Linked DNA regions of Homo sapiens: region 2 is linked to region 1. The links are contacts of gene promoters, found by promoter capture Hi-C in human tissues and cell types (Jung and others, 2019). All regions are on one chromosome and are shown on one strand. Each heading gives the region's core, a stretch centred on a gene start or on the middle of the fragment in contact. The rest is flanking DNA. Distances are from core to core; before and after follow the strand shown.

The links. The method cuts DNA at HindIII sites, captures the fragments that hold promoters and counts their contacts. A contact is called where the count stands out against the background at its distance.
Region 2: a contact is called between a fragment that was not itself captured here and the fragment with the promoter of PTPRZ1 in region 1, in 7 of the 25 tissues and cell types used here (H1 embryonic stem cells, dorsolateral prefrontal cortex, heart left ventricle and 4 more).

What each region holds. Positions count from the first base shown.
Region 1 is chr7:121,869,236-121,876,109 of GRCh38, reverse strand. PTPRZ1 (protein tyrosine phosphatase receptor type Z1) reads right to left here and starts at 2,949. Exons shown (of 30, transcript NM_002851.3): 1 at 2,553-2,949. The coding sequence starts at 2,610. RefSeq lists an enhancer at 2,492-2,993. The HindIII fragment of the contact is 8,425 bases long and covers 1-6,874 here.
Region 2 is chr7:121,910,261-121,917,134 of GRCh38, reverse strand. All of the region lies in intron 1 of PTPRZ1 (protein tyrosine phosphatase receptor type Z1), which reads right to left. Among named protein-coding and RNA genes, the nearest start is that of PTPRZ1, 41 kb to the right of the region's middle. The HindIII fragment of the contact is 4,966 bases long and covers 990-5,955 here.

The DNA of each region.
Region 1 (6,874 bases), core at 1,700-4,199:
TAGATACAAAATGATCTGATCTGATCACTAAGACATTCTTAATTGCCAATAATCAATATCTTAGTGAACTCTACAACTTGTTCCTGGATAATGGTAAGAATGACAGCCTAATGTTCAAATTGTATTGAGCTCTTCTCCTGTACAGCAAGTTTTAGTCAGTTGACAGACCCTTACTGAGCACTTAATACATATGTCAGGCTACCTCATTGGCTCTAAGAACACTGAAGATGAGGGGTAAACGCATCCACAAACACTGAAGTAGGTGCTGAGTGAAAAATAATTGAAATGGAGCCTAACTTTTTCATTTGAAGATAATGTGCCTCACTTTTTCAAAACATGCTGCCCCAAGATCAAGATATTTATGTTACTTGATGTTGCCAATGCCTCCAGGTCAGCCTGTTGGCAACTGTGTAAAAGGCCAACTTTGTTAAAATGGTGAGGAATACAAAAGTAGTCACCTTCCAGTCTCAACAAAACTCACTTGGAGTTCCAATGCAAGCTTACATTCAGTAGCATTACATAAGCTTGTGATAGTCTTTAAAAGTTAATTAAATTCTTTACACTTAAATTTTACATCACCAAAGACTTAAAGAAAATGTCCAACAAACTGAAAACTATACAACCAAAAATAGGCTACAAATAATGCTTTACAGAGAAAAACCTTTGCAAATGTGATATATTTAGTATATTGGCATAATGGAATATTACTCAGCCACAAAAAGGAATGAAGTACTTATACATACTATAACATGGATGAAACTGAAAACATTATGCCAAGTGAACAAAGACAGACAGAAAAGGCCACAAGTTGCATGATTCTATTTATATGAAATGTCCAGGATAGGCAAATTTATAGAGACAGAAAGTAGATTAGTGGTTGCTAGGAGCTGGGGTCATGGAGAATGGGGAATGGCTGCTAAGGAACATGGGGTTTCTTTTTGGGGTCATTAAAACATTCTGGAATTAGTGGTGATGGCTGCACAACTTCACGAATATATTAAAAACCACTGGACCATTTTAAAAAGATGAATTGTATAATGTGTGAATTTTATCTTTTTTTTTTTTTCAAAGAGATCCGCAACATGCTCTGGGCATGTGGTTTTGAAGACATACAAAGCAATACTCTCTGGTTTATTTCCTTGCTACTGTGATATTTACTTACATAATTTAATTACTAAGAGGACCTGCCTTCTTTGTTAAAATAGATCTACAATAGAAATGTGAATTCAACAGATGTTTGATGACCACGTACTTTTTAAAGCTGTCTTCCCCTCTCCAGAACTGACTATAAGGTTTTAGAATCAATGGAGACCAGAGATTCCCTTGCATGTCTTATGTGTCAACTATGCATCACACCACCCCAAGCACTTTCATAAAGCCTTTGAAATTTAAATTATGTCCGTGTGTGGGGGTCTATGGGCAATTATCACCGTATTTGCAATGTAATTTTCATTTATTAGAACTTAAAAATAGTTTCTGTTTGTAAAGGTTACTGTGCCAAGAGCAGCACCATCTATTGGATGAAAATGTACGCTTAATATCTACTCTACTATGAACCATCTAAAATTGAAAAATTGGGAGCCTCTGAAAAGAATTAAATATGTGTACTCACAAAGCGAAGTACAACACTTTGTAACTTTCAGGTTAATGCGTAAACCCATTATATTCTATCGCGATGGAAAATCATGAAGGAAAAAAAGCATTTCTTTAATAAAACGCAAAAGTCCAATCTTGCACTTCTCGAAAATGACTGGAAAACTTGAGTCTGCATCGCAGGTAAAGGGAATGCTTAAACTGGCTATTGCTGAATGCAATTTCAGTTTTAAATGTAACCTGGAGGGTGCAGATGAAAAATGAAATCTGTGAATAAGTATATCAACCTGCAGCTCTCCTCTGACTTTGGCAGCACTGACCAAACCTAGAGATTTAGATGGAACTTTTTTTTTTGTAAGTAATTGCGCAGACTTGAATATGACTAAATTGAAAGTAATAAAAAAAACCCTGAAAAGTCAGGTTGGTGCTTGTGCCTGTTACTACCTTTCAGGTGTGTGTGTGTGTGTGTGTGTGTGTCTGCAATTCACACCAGACACGTGTACTTTCCATTTAAGCCCATCATACCTATAGCATAAAAATGAACAGCAAAAAAGACAGTACAGTACACAGCCCCGCACCACAGCTGTATTTCTGGTCATTTATCTTCCTATGTATATCTAAAAGGCGATTTCTACACTTTGCAAAAGAGGAGAGAAGAACGGTGGCGGCAGGGATCCGAGTAGCCCTCCGTCTCCAGTAGCTCCGTCTCCTGGGGCCCGGGGCACGAATGCCCGCGGGCCGATGGAAGGGGCGAGGGCGCGGGGCGGGGAGGGGGCGCGCAAATCCCACGCAGCTGCCTGCACCGCGCGGCCGCCCGCTCCGTGGGAGCCCAGTTGGCTGTCCCTTTTTCCTCCTGGCTAGATGGCGGCGGCGGCGGCAAGTCGCGGACACGCTGAAATGCTCCCACCCTCATCCCACCGATCCCGGAGCTGAAACCCCACCGAGCTCTTCTCACTCACCCAGGCGGCAAACACAGAGGAGCTGAATGCAAGCGAGGAAACGCTTTAGGATTCGCATTTCCAGACGGTCTGCGGCCCCTCGCCGTGCGGCTCCTCTGCTTCTCAGAGTGGAGAGGGAGGGGGAGCGAAGGAAATGTTTTTTTTGTTTGTTTGTTTTAATCCTCCAGTGTATAGATCGAAGTGAGATCGTGCGTGCGTATGTGTGTTTGTGTGTGTGTGTGTGTGTGTGAGAGAGAGAGAGACAGAGACAGAGACAGAGAGAGACAGTCAGAGACAGCGAGAGAGGAATAATCTGGAGAAAGCCGCACGGTGGTGGGGCCCGGGGCCGCTAGCCGAGGCGCATGTCCTCCGGCGTGCGGGACTTTGCCTCTTTCGCCGGCTGCGGCGGCCGCGGTCTGAGCGCTCCGAGAGCAGCGAAGCCTCAGTGCCGGGTGCGCGCTCCAGCCCGGCTGTGCGCGCCGCGGCTCCTGGAGGGGGCGGGGGCGCAGGACCGCTCCGCTGGGAGCGTGCCTCGGACCCGGGGTCGCGCGGGGGGCGGAGGGGCGCGGCTGCCGCTCTGGGTCCGGATCCCAGGGTAGCAATTCACACACCGACAATCCTCCCTCTGTCCGCTGCCAGTGGTTTCGCTGCCCTGGAGTTAGAGGGATCCGCTGGGGTTTCCAGTGTTCGCAGAACATTGGAACTCCTTCATCACTTCGGAAGGGAAGGGAAGGGAAGGCCGGACACCCATTGTCCCGCACAGCCAGAGGTTGACCTTTGAGTTTCACCTCTAAGAGTTTTTTTCATTTTATTGTTTTCTGCAGATGCTTAAGTGGGTCCAATCAGAATGCGGTGGGGGCGCCTGGGTACATTGTTTCCCTCCCTTTTTTCTTTCCATTTTCCTAATAAAGCAGTAGACCCCATTGCCTTTGGGAGAGTTGACTCCAAAAAATCTCCAGCCCTGATTGTGACCAGTCTGACCCTGCCCTTTCCCTAGACCCCAACGAAACTGCCGTGCTGGGCACAGCTGTCTGGGGGGACTTTCAACACGGCGGTGGTCCTGCCAGACCGAACCACACAAGTGCCTCCTCCCACAGGGTCGAACGGGAAGATTTTTTATTGCTTGATTGAAGGGTATGCAAAAAATGTATAATGCATACCTTCTGCTGCCTTAGAGCTGGAAATGTCACCCTCATGTGCTCTTTTCTTTGGTGGTGTTCAGAATTAGACTGTGAGCGCCTTGATGGCAGGGAGTTTACCTTTATTACTATAACCCCAGATCCTAGCAAAATGGCCTTAAAAAAAATCAATAGGTGTTCCCTGAATATTTGTTGAATTAATTTGAAGCCAAAAGGAAATAATGAGAAGGTAATTGGTGGTAGTCTCTACACTGAAAATTTATGAGATTTTCATTTATATGATATCCTTTAACTATTAGTACATGTTTTTCGTATATGAGACCCACTTTAGAGCCTTTTAGGAGTCCCATCTAAGGCACAGAAAGCCAAGTTGTGGAATTATCCCATGTATTCTTAGTAACAATTTGAAGTAGGTATCTGTACAGTGTATACTCTTGTGTCCTGTTCTTGTCTCAAAAATAGTATTCTAGCTTTAAAAATTTTAAAGAAAACTTCCTGCACATAAAATTGGGTTCTGAATGTATTTCAAGTGTTACTACGAGTTCTTGCTAATATCCCAGCCTGTGAACATTTGGCTAAATGTGCAAGCTAATGGCAGTTTGCTGTTGCTTCAGGAATAGATTATAGTCATGTAATAACAGATTTTGAAACCATTTAGTGTTTATTCAGAAACACATATCAATATTAAGAAGTTGATCCTTGATCTTATTCTTTCCATGAACAGAAATAGAAATGCTACAACTTTTACAAGAATTATGATGGGGATTGATGGCTGCTCATGTGAGTTTCCATATAGGAAGAAAATTTGGGGGCCATTTTTTTTTGCTAGCATTACAAGAAGTATGCAGGTGTATAAACTGACTGTGCACTGAGAGTTCAGAGAAAGTTTTATTTAATATTGACTGGAGTAGGCAGGAAAGCTTTCCTAGAGATGTGTAGTTAAACAAGAAGGACTAGCAGGGAAAAAAACCATGTCAAAGGCAGTGAGGACAGGAAGGAAAGAAGCAGATGTCATATGCCATTAAAAAAACAGTGTGAATTACATTTGAGCAGATTGAGTGGGGTCAGACTGTGACAAACATTGATTTCCCAGTGGAGCAGCTTATATGTGAAATACAACACAGGAGGGACCACAAAAGAAACTCCTAAGAACTTCTGCTATTTAGGGGAAGCTTGGTTTGCTTAGGGGAATTATGGTGTTCCAGTAGGTTCCAATTATCAAGGATACCCCAGTAGCCTGCAAGAATAATCCAACAACCACCATAACCCTGAGTTTTCTCTTACTGGACAAAAAAATCACATCACTTGTCAATCTTTTGAATTAGATCACCAAACAACAACACTGTTGAAATAAATTTCCCTAGTAAAAAGGGAAGGGGAATATGTGATTTCTGCTAATTTTGTTCTCATAGTTAATATTACTGTCATTCCCTGGGAAGGCACAAAAGCCACCTGGAGGGAGTAGTCATGTTGCTATTGAGGTTTGTATGGGATTCAGGATAGAGGCCAATTCTGTGAGACTGAATGACAGCTGTGGGAAACTGACTGGAGGACCAGTGAATGTGGTTCTGATGATCTCTGGGAGGGATGATGGAGTAGGAGGTTGAGGTCCTTGGAATATAGGTCACTGTAACAGCCAAGGCATGGGAGAAGAGAAGGCATCAGCAGAGCAGAAACATCAAAAATGTACTGTATCTCACAGTTCACAGTGTTACTGGGGTCATAGTCATTTCTGAGACATGGTACCTGATTAATGTGCATTAGCCATTGTGAGTTAAAGTTATGAACTTGCAAAACCACACACCTTCATTCAGAGTATACATATATATATAAATTTATGTATACATGTATTCAGAGAGAATATATGTAGAAAAACAGAGACAGAACAGAAAGAGGCAGAGACAGAGACAAACAGAACCTATATCTAAAACATTAGCTTGGTAAACTAGGTACATTTTATCCTCACCTACATACCATCCTGGAGCATTTTGTAAATCCAAACTCATGTATAAGCCAAAGCTCTGGGAGTCTTATCACTCTCAATAAATATAATATACTGTTTCATATGAACAGTTTAAACAAAGAGATGAGAAGAGATTATATTAGTTGAACCTACAAGGAAAAGGAATATTTCTGGAGGTAGATAGCGGTTGCATAATGGAAGATTTGACAAAAATTTCAAAACTCAAGAGTTTTCTAAAAGAGAACAAATTTGAGGGTCTTTAAAATTTGTTCTTTACATTCAGTTTTTCATTTAATACAATTCTGTTGTGTGTGTTCATTATGTATCACACACTGATGCATAACGAATTATTTCATCTCTGCCATAAAGGGACTCACATTCTAATAGGAGAGAAAAGCATCACTACTAAAATGTCTCTGCATAGTATTGCCTGATAAAAGAGAGGATGCCCAGTGAAATTTGAATTTCAGACACACAATAAATAATTTTTATATACTCTCATGCAATATTTGGGACATTCTTATATTTAAAAAAATTAATGTTTATCTGAAACCCAAGTTTAACTAGTTGCTCTGTATTTTTATTAGCAAAATCTGGCAATCTATTTTGTTGTGTCTGAGAATTTTCTAATATCAGGGTTGGTCACTTGTGATTATAAAATGTCCATAGTTTTCCATAAGTTTCCTTACTCTACAAATTATTTCCAAAGTGTCCCTAACATAAATATAGGTAGATGGAAATGGGGAAAAGGAGATGTTAACTTTGCAGAATCTGTTTGACTTAAATTTGGTGGAAGTGCTTCTTACAACACTTCCATGTTATAACACAGTGACTATAGAATATTGTATAGTCACTGAATAAACTATGAAATTAAATGGGAAGTGAAATATCTGTTTTTCTTATAACAATAAATTGTTTATGTTAGGCTCACATACATTTTTGCTCATTTTTATCCATTGTCATTGAAAAATCTATTTGAACAGATGTTAAATACGAACAGAAGTCACTGAATTGAATCAAATGTTTACAAACTGAGAAAGTCATAGTTATTTCTTTTGAAGTAAAATACAGCTTTGGTAATTATAAGGTGTTTGTCAGAAATAGATCTCATTTTACATGGAACAATGTATTTTAGACTATGAGGCTAGATTTATCTTGTGTTTTACACCTTAAAAATTTTGTTCACATCTGATTGACACAATGACATCTACTTAGTATTCTTGTAATGTGAAATTTCTGAA
Region 2 (6,874 bases), core at 2,223-4,722, 41 kb before region 1:
TTTATTTCCTTGTATTGTACAGTTTATTTGAAGTGAGCGGAAACTGTGCAAATCCTATTGTCTCAATTAGTACAGCTTAAGTACGGTCTAGCTGGCTAGCAGAATCATTTTAGTGGCTTCACATTCCTCTGCTGGATACTTTTAGTCCCCATCTCATGCCTCTACTCTTTGCCTAACATCTCACTTGTACTTTCTTTTCTTTCTCAATTTAATAGTTGCATTCTCCATGGAACTTGGGGCCTCCACAATGCCCATTCTGTGAATCCCCAAAGTGAGGCCTTAAGGAGAGGGGATTCACTTCAACCACCAATCACAACATGCTTATCTTCAAGTCTTGTAATTGGTGACCTATCTTGACCAATGACAGCACTGGGTCTTACTGGGCCACTGCTGCAACAGCATTTCCCAAATTTTGCCTGAAATTTGAATGTACTCTGCAGTGGCAGATGCTCAAAGATGCTCATTAGGTAGCCTAGATTACACAGGTTTATTGCACTCAGAGGAACAACATTTAAAAAGCATTCCTGTTCAGTACATAATTAATAGTCTTGGAGAATACATCCCATTAGTTACTTTTTATACACAATTACAAATTCTTGGCCAGGGGTTAGATATTATTTATTTTGGAATAGTTAACTCATTTGGAACAAACATGTTTTCTCTCCAGGTTTACTGTTCTGTTTGTGAGGATGTCAAGAGACTGAACAAGTTAATGTAGTGTTTTTGGCCAGGACTCTGCTGGCATTTTGCCCTGGACTTACTAGGCCACTGGGACACCTAGAGATAATTAACATACTCCTGCACTGTCTAATGTGATAATGGTAACGGTTAAATAAAAATGAACTTTTTTTTTTTTTTTTTTGAGATGGAGTCCCACTCTGTCGCCAGTCAGGAGTGCAGTGGCACGATCTCGGCTCACTGCAACCTCCGGCTCCCAGGTTCAAGTGATTCTCCTGCCTCGGATTTCCAAGTAGCTGGGATTATAGGCGCACACCATGACGCCCAGTTAATTTTTGTATTTTTAGTAGAGACGGGGTTTTACCATGTTGGCCAGGATGGTCTCAATCTCTTGACTTCATGATCTGCCCGCCTCGGCCTCCCAAAGTGCTGGGATTACAGGCATGAGCCACTGCGCCTGGCCAAAAAAGAGCATCTTAAAACAGACCACAGGTAGCATTATTGCACATCAAAGGAGCTAGCTCTGTGGGCAAGTCAATGTTTCTCTCTAAGTCTAGGAAAAAGAAAAAAATGTTTTTATGAAAGGATTTACACCTTGGAATTTACATATCATAGAACACAAAGACAAAGATATTGAAATGTAACCTGTTTTCCTTAATAGATTTTTTAGCATCTAAGTGATCATATCTTTCTGAAGTTTATACTTCTGCCATTAATTTCATTAATGGCAAATATTATTTTGACAGAAGATGTTTATCTGATAAGCTATTATAGATCTAGCCAAGGATACACTGATTTAACCTTGGAAATAAGATCACATAATATGCATTTTGTGTTCAAGCGGATCACAAACCAGAGTATAATGCCTAAAGTTCTTTAATATGTCATTCAAGTTCATTGGTAAATTAAGAAAATAGTGACTGCTGAAATACAATTTATTTTAAACTACCTTGTTTTTTAACTTCAGAAATGGCTTGCAGAAACTGTCATCTCCTGCCATTTTAAATGATATGCACCTCTAACTAACTTAAATGTCTTGCTTCACATACTATTTAAATGAAATGAATGTTTCTTGTGAGGATAAAATTCCCAGAAGCCTCTCCGGTCTCAGAGCAAGGGGCATTAGTAGGCAAAGAAGTTCTGCATTTCCCAAGAGGACCTCCACCAGACCCCTTGAGGCTATGCACTCACTTCCTACCTGAACCTCCCAAATAATACAGTAGCTGGAGAATGTGCTGTTCCCTCCTGATCAGGGAGTGTCTGGTGATTTGGGATGGTGATCCATTCCAAGGAATCATGATAATACCATCAGCCTGACACAGCTTTCTCATCTCACACAAAGCTCCTGTCATTCAGAAGTATGTGTGCAGTATACGGCGGTGCTCTAGTGGGTCTTGATTAGCAGGGAGAAAGACTACCCCCATCTCCCTGACACATCCAAAAAGAATTGATGCAGTTTTCTAAGCCCTTCATGTAATTTTGCCCTCGTTTCCAGTCCCCCAAATTACTTACGGGAAACTTAGCAGTAATTGTAGACGTAACAAGAAAACCTTGGAAACTTTTCACATGTAATGTCAGCATGGTGCCTGGCACATGAGTGAATAAATGAAAGTTACACATCTCACATCATGTTCAGTTCTGTAGTTAGGAGAGGTATAGGTAGAGCAAGTATCCAGTAAAAACCCTCAAGAAGAAAAGGCATTGAGGATATTATTTCACGGTCCTCAACAATCCCATTATGTTGTTACTTTAACTACATTTTTTACAATTTTGGTCTTTAAAATACCATGGACCACCAAGGATATTTCAACAAAATAAGATTAATAGATGATTTATGATTTTAATGAACTTGATTCTTTAAATTCAAGGCACGTCCCAAGGATTTTTCACAAAAACAATTGATCCTTTTCATGGCTTAATGCCACTGTAACTTCCTCCACACAGCTAGCGGATTGCCATGGACACACACTCGGACGCCTTTCATTCTCTCCAGGTCTCCAGAAGTTTACGTTTGAGGACAAAAAGAAAGAGCAGAGGAACCTTTTCTATACATAAAGCTTACTTGGGACCTTAAACAATATGCACCTTTGTAATACAAATTATTACCAGAAATTTATAGTATGCTAAAACGTTACTTCTACACCACTTAAAAAAAGAAGTAATGTTTTAAAAATCCAGAAAATATCAAGTAATCATAAACCAGTGATTTAAGACAGTGGTAAACACCTATGATTTCACAGAGGTGTAGCAACCCACAGCTAAAAACAGAAATGTCTGGTTTCTGTTTCTTTCTTTTACATATTTATTTAGAGACAGGGTTTCACCATGTTGCCCAGGCTGCTCTTGAACTCCTGGGTTCAAGGGATCTGCTCGCCTCGGCCTCCAAAAGTGCTGGGATCAGAGGCATGAGCCACCACACCAGGCCAGGTTTCTGTTTCTTTTAAATAGGTGCTATACACAGAGATAAAAAGGATAAGGTATGCAATTAAAAAATGAATACAGACTGTGTAGCTGGATAATTCTAGGCAGAGTTCCAGTTTTTTTCCCGGGAATTAGGTTAGACGGTTTTTGTCTGAACTTTATTAATGATTTTCTGAATTCTTTACTTAATATATATGTGTGAATAAGTTGAGAATTCTTTTGGTTGAACATTAAATAATTTGAAATTTCACTCAATCTTATTCTATTTTACTGACAATACTCAATGGAAAAGAAATGAGAGAAAACTTTCCCCCATACCTGCTAAGGTAAGATAATTTTTTAAATCTTTTCATAAAAAACCCCAAGATAAACTTCCATATTGTGGACCGTCTCTGTGTCAATTTGTAATATTTATAAAACTAGCCAGGTTAAATGCAGTGTCATTTTATCAACTACCTATTTGCTGAATAAACCAATTAATTCAATGACTATAAACACACAAGAAGGGCCAAATTAATAAAACATCCAGATATTTTATTTATTCCATGCACCTTGCTGGTGCTACAGATGAAAACTTTCTGAGGTCACTTCCCCTAATGCAAAGCTTCTCAAACTATTTCATATTATGGCTCAGTTAGAAAGTGATAATGTTCTTTGTGCCTTGGAATAACACATAAGAGCTGAGCGGATGAATATTTGACACACGTGTAATTCACGAGTGGCACCAGAGCACACTGAGTGGGAAGCCTTGCCTCCCTCAAGCACCTGGTCTCAGGGCCTTTGCTCAGCCATTTCTCCAACTGGGTATCTCTACTTTCTCCTTTCTCTGCCTCCTCACCCAATCCCAAGCCTTCTCATGCATCATATGGTATCTTAATACCATTTCTTTAACTTTTACGGTCTTTCTCACAATTATAATTGAGTAATAATTTTTTAATATTTGTTTACTGTGTCATGAAGGCATGAACTGCTTAAGAATTCAAAATGTGCCTATCTTGCTCCCTGCTGCATATTCAACACCTAACCTAGGCAAACGTGCTCTGTAAATATTCATTACATGAATAAATGACAAATTTAGGATTTATAATCTTAGAGGAATGTTCCCTGACACCCATAATTCATTTACCCGTCTCTGTTCCCCAACCTTTTTCAGATCAGTGACTGCTAAATCCTTCCTTTTATGATCAGGAGCAGACTGAACATTCTGTTCTCACCAAGAAAACAGAAAACGGGAAATTTTGCAAGTTCCCTCCTCTTCACCTTTTAACTAAGTTCTATTTTCATCATCGTCTTTCTCATTGTATCTCATAGAGACAGATGCCACCACTCTTTTCCCATCCTCCTACCTTCTCCAGGATTTTCTGGACTTCAATCTCTCCTTCACTGAACTGTTCTTTTAAGCCCCTGTAACATACTTAAGCACTGCTACCCTAAAAATTCCCCTTCCCTTAGTCTCACCCGCTTCTTTACCAAATGCACTAAGCATCTATATTTCCATGCATTTTTCAAATGGTAGCTGTCATATTTCAATGAACATACACCTGTATGTCTCTCTTCTGCCTATGGATTACTTTAAGAGCAGAAACTAGTACACTCTTCGATCCTCTACATCATAGTATCAGACACAGAGTAAGTGCTCATGAATATTTAACACAATGAATAAAAAGAGATTCCTGGATACAGAATGAGTACAAACCAGTGCTAAACACGTTATCAACTTCATAACCATCTCTTATATTGTTTCCCATACTTGACTGCTATCAAAGAACAGTGGATAGGGACACTATATTGATAATGAAATGTAAGCTTTGCCTTGTTATAATTTTCATATAAAATGGTTGCAGTTAACAATAAATATATGAACTTTATTTCTAATTCCCTCTAGGATTTACTGGGCTTTCTTGAATTTATCTAATACTTCCTGCTGTTCAATTACGGACATCTTCAACTACACATTAGTCCCTTATGGATAAAAGAATCTTAGTTTCATACACTGGAAAATGCTTCATCATAATTTTTTATTTCAAATATAACAAGGAAACAGACACTTCTGTTTTCAAAACAGGTCTACTTTTATTAGAAACTCATTAACAGAACTTAAATTTTTCCCCGTTAAGTTCTTACACTGAAATAAATGTAATGACTGACCTTTAGTTATCTAGGTGCCTGTAATATTGAATAGCTTATTGAGATATTGAATAGCTTAATAAAGTGAAATGTATTTCATATGAACATATTTCATATATATGTGTATAAAATTAAAGTTTCCAAAATATAATGCATTTTCTTATATGATATGTGATAGATCATATGACAGATGTAATGCTTTTACAACCATACCTTCCTATCTCCCATCTAAGTTTCAGAAAAGGAAGAGGCTCTGAAAGGATAAGAAAAGGAAAGAAGATAAGATAAGGAAAGGATAAGAGAAGGAAGAAGTTAAGAATCAGAGACAGTGGCAAGGTTGCTGTTCATATTTGCTAAAGATGTGCATCAGAATTAGACATGAAAAGTTATTTTAAATGTACGCAATCTAGAAACATTTATATGGAAGAAAACCACAATATACACGTAACTAGTTATGACTACTGAGACAAGAAAAAAGGACTTTATTTCACAAAAATGGCCAGTTACAGTGCAATCAGATTACTCTGTCATCAGTATTTTCAAATATACAGTCAAAATGAAGATATGGATTTTTAAATTATGCGAAAGCTTAAATCCATGCAGGTCATAACTGTGCATATAATTATTAAGAAATATAATTTATTTTCAAATCAAACTTTATAAATGTTAGTGAAATTGGTTTCCATAAAATTATAAATAAGAATAGAATACTATGTTTTTAATAGAAGAAAGCACTATTAAATAAGTACAATATTAAACCTTTCATTACTCTTAGGTATGAGCTTTTATAGTTCAAAGCACAAAAATCCTCGTATTTGTAACTTACAGGCAAGCTAAACTGTAAAACTTGTAGGAAAACTCTACAAAAGCTTTTATTGTTGTCATTAGCTAAGTTATTGTATCATTCTTATTTTTATTCGATGTCTAGAACTTCTGTGGCTTTAAATAGCATTTAATAATTTAACTTTATTTTCCATGACTATGAATGCCATTCACTTCTAATAACATATACTAGAATCTTGACATTCCTTATTTTCAGGTATTTCCTGCTTATAAAACAGATGAAACATTGGTTTTAGAAATAATCATATTTTTCATTATAATGCCAAATTTATGTTCAAGCCTATTTCAAATTCATTCACTTCTCTCCATTTATCGTGCCTCTACCCAAACTCAAACCACCACCATCTTATGAAATAATGCATTTGCCTCCTAACTTGTGTCCCTTGTTTTGTCCCACCTTCTCTTTTTTCTTCCCTTCCTTTTTTAGTCTTTTCTTTCTTCATTTAGTTAATTGATACCTTCAACTAATATATACTGATTACATACTGTATGCCAAGCACCATTTAATAGCTTACTGAAATACTGAATAGCTCATTAAAATAAAAAGTGTTCCATATATATGTTTCATATATATATATAGGCACTTGAGATGCACTGGTGGACCCCCCAGCCATCCAAACCACAAACATGTTGTCCTTGTGTAGTTCACATTGTAGCAAGGGGAGATAGAAAGTTAACAAAAACCATAATAAATGACTTAATCATGCAGTATTTAAGAAGGTGATAAACACTATGGAGAAAAGCATTAGAGCGGAATAAGGCAGATGCATGAGCAGGTGCAATTTTAGACTGAGTGGTCAAGGGG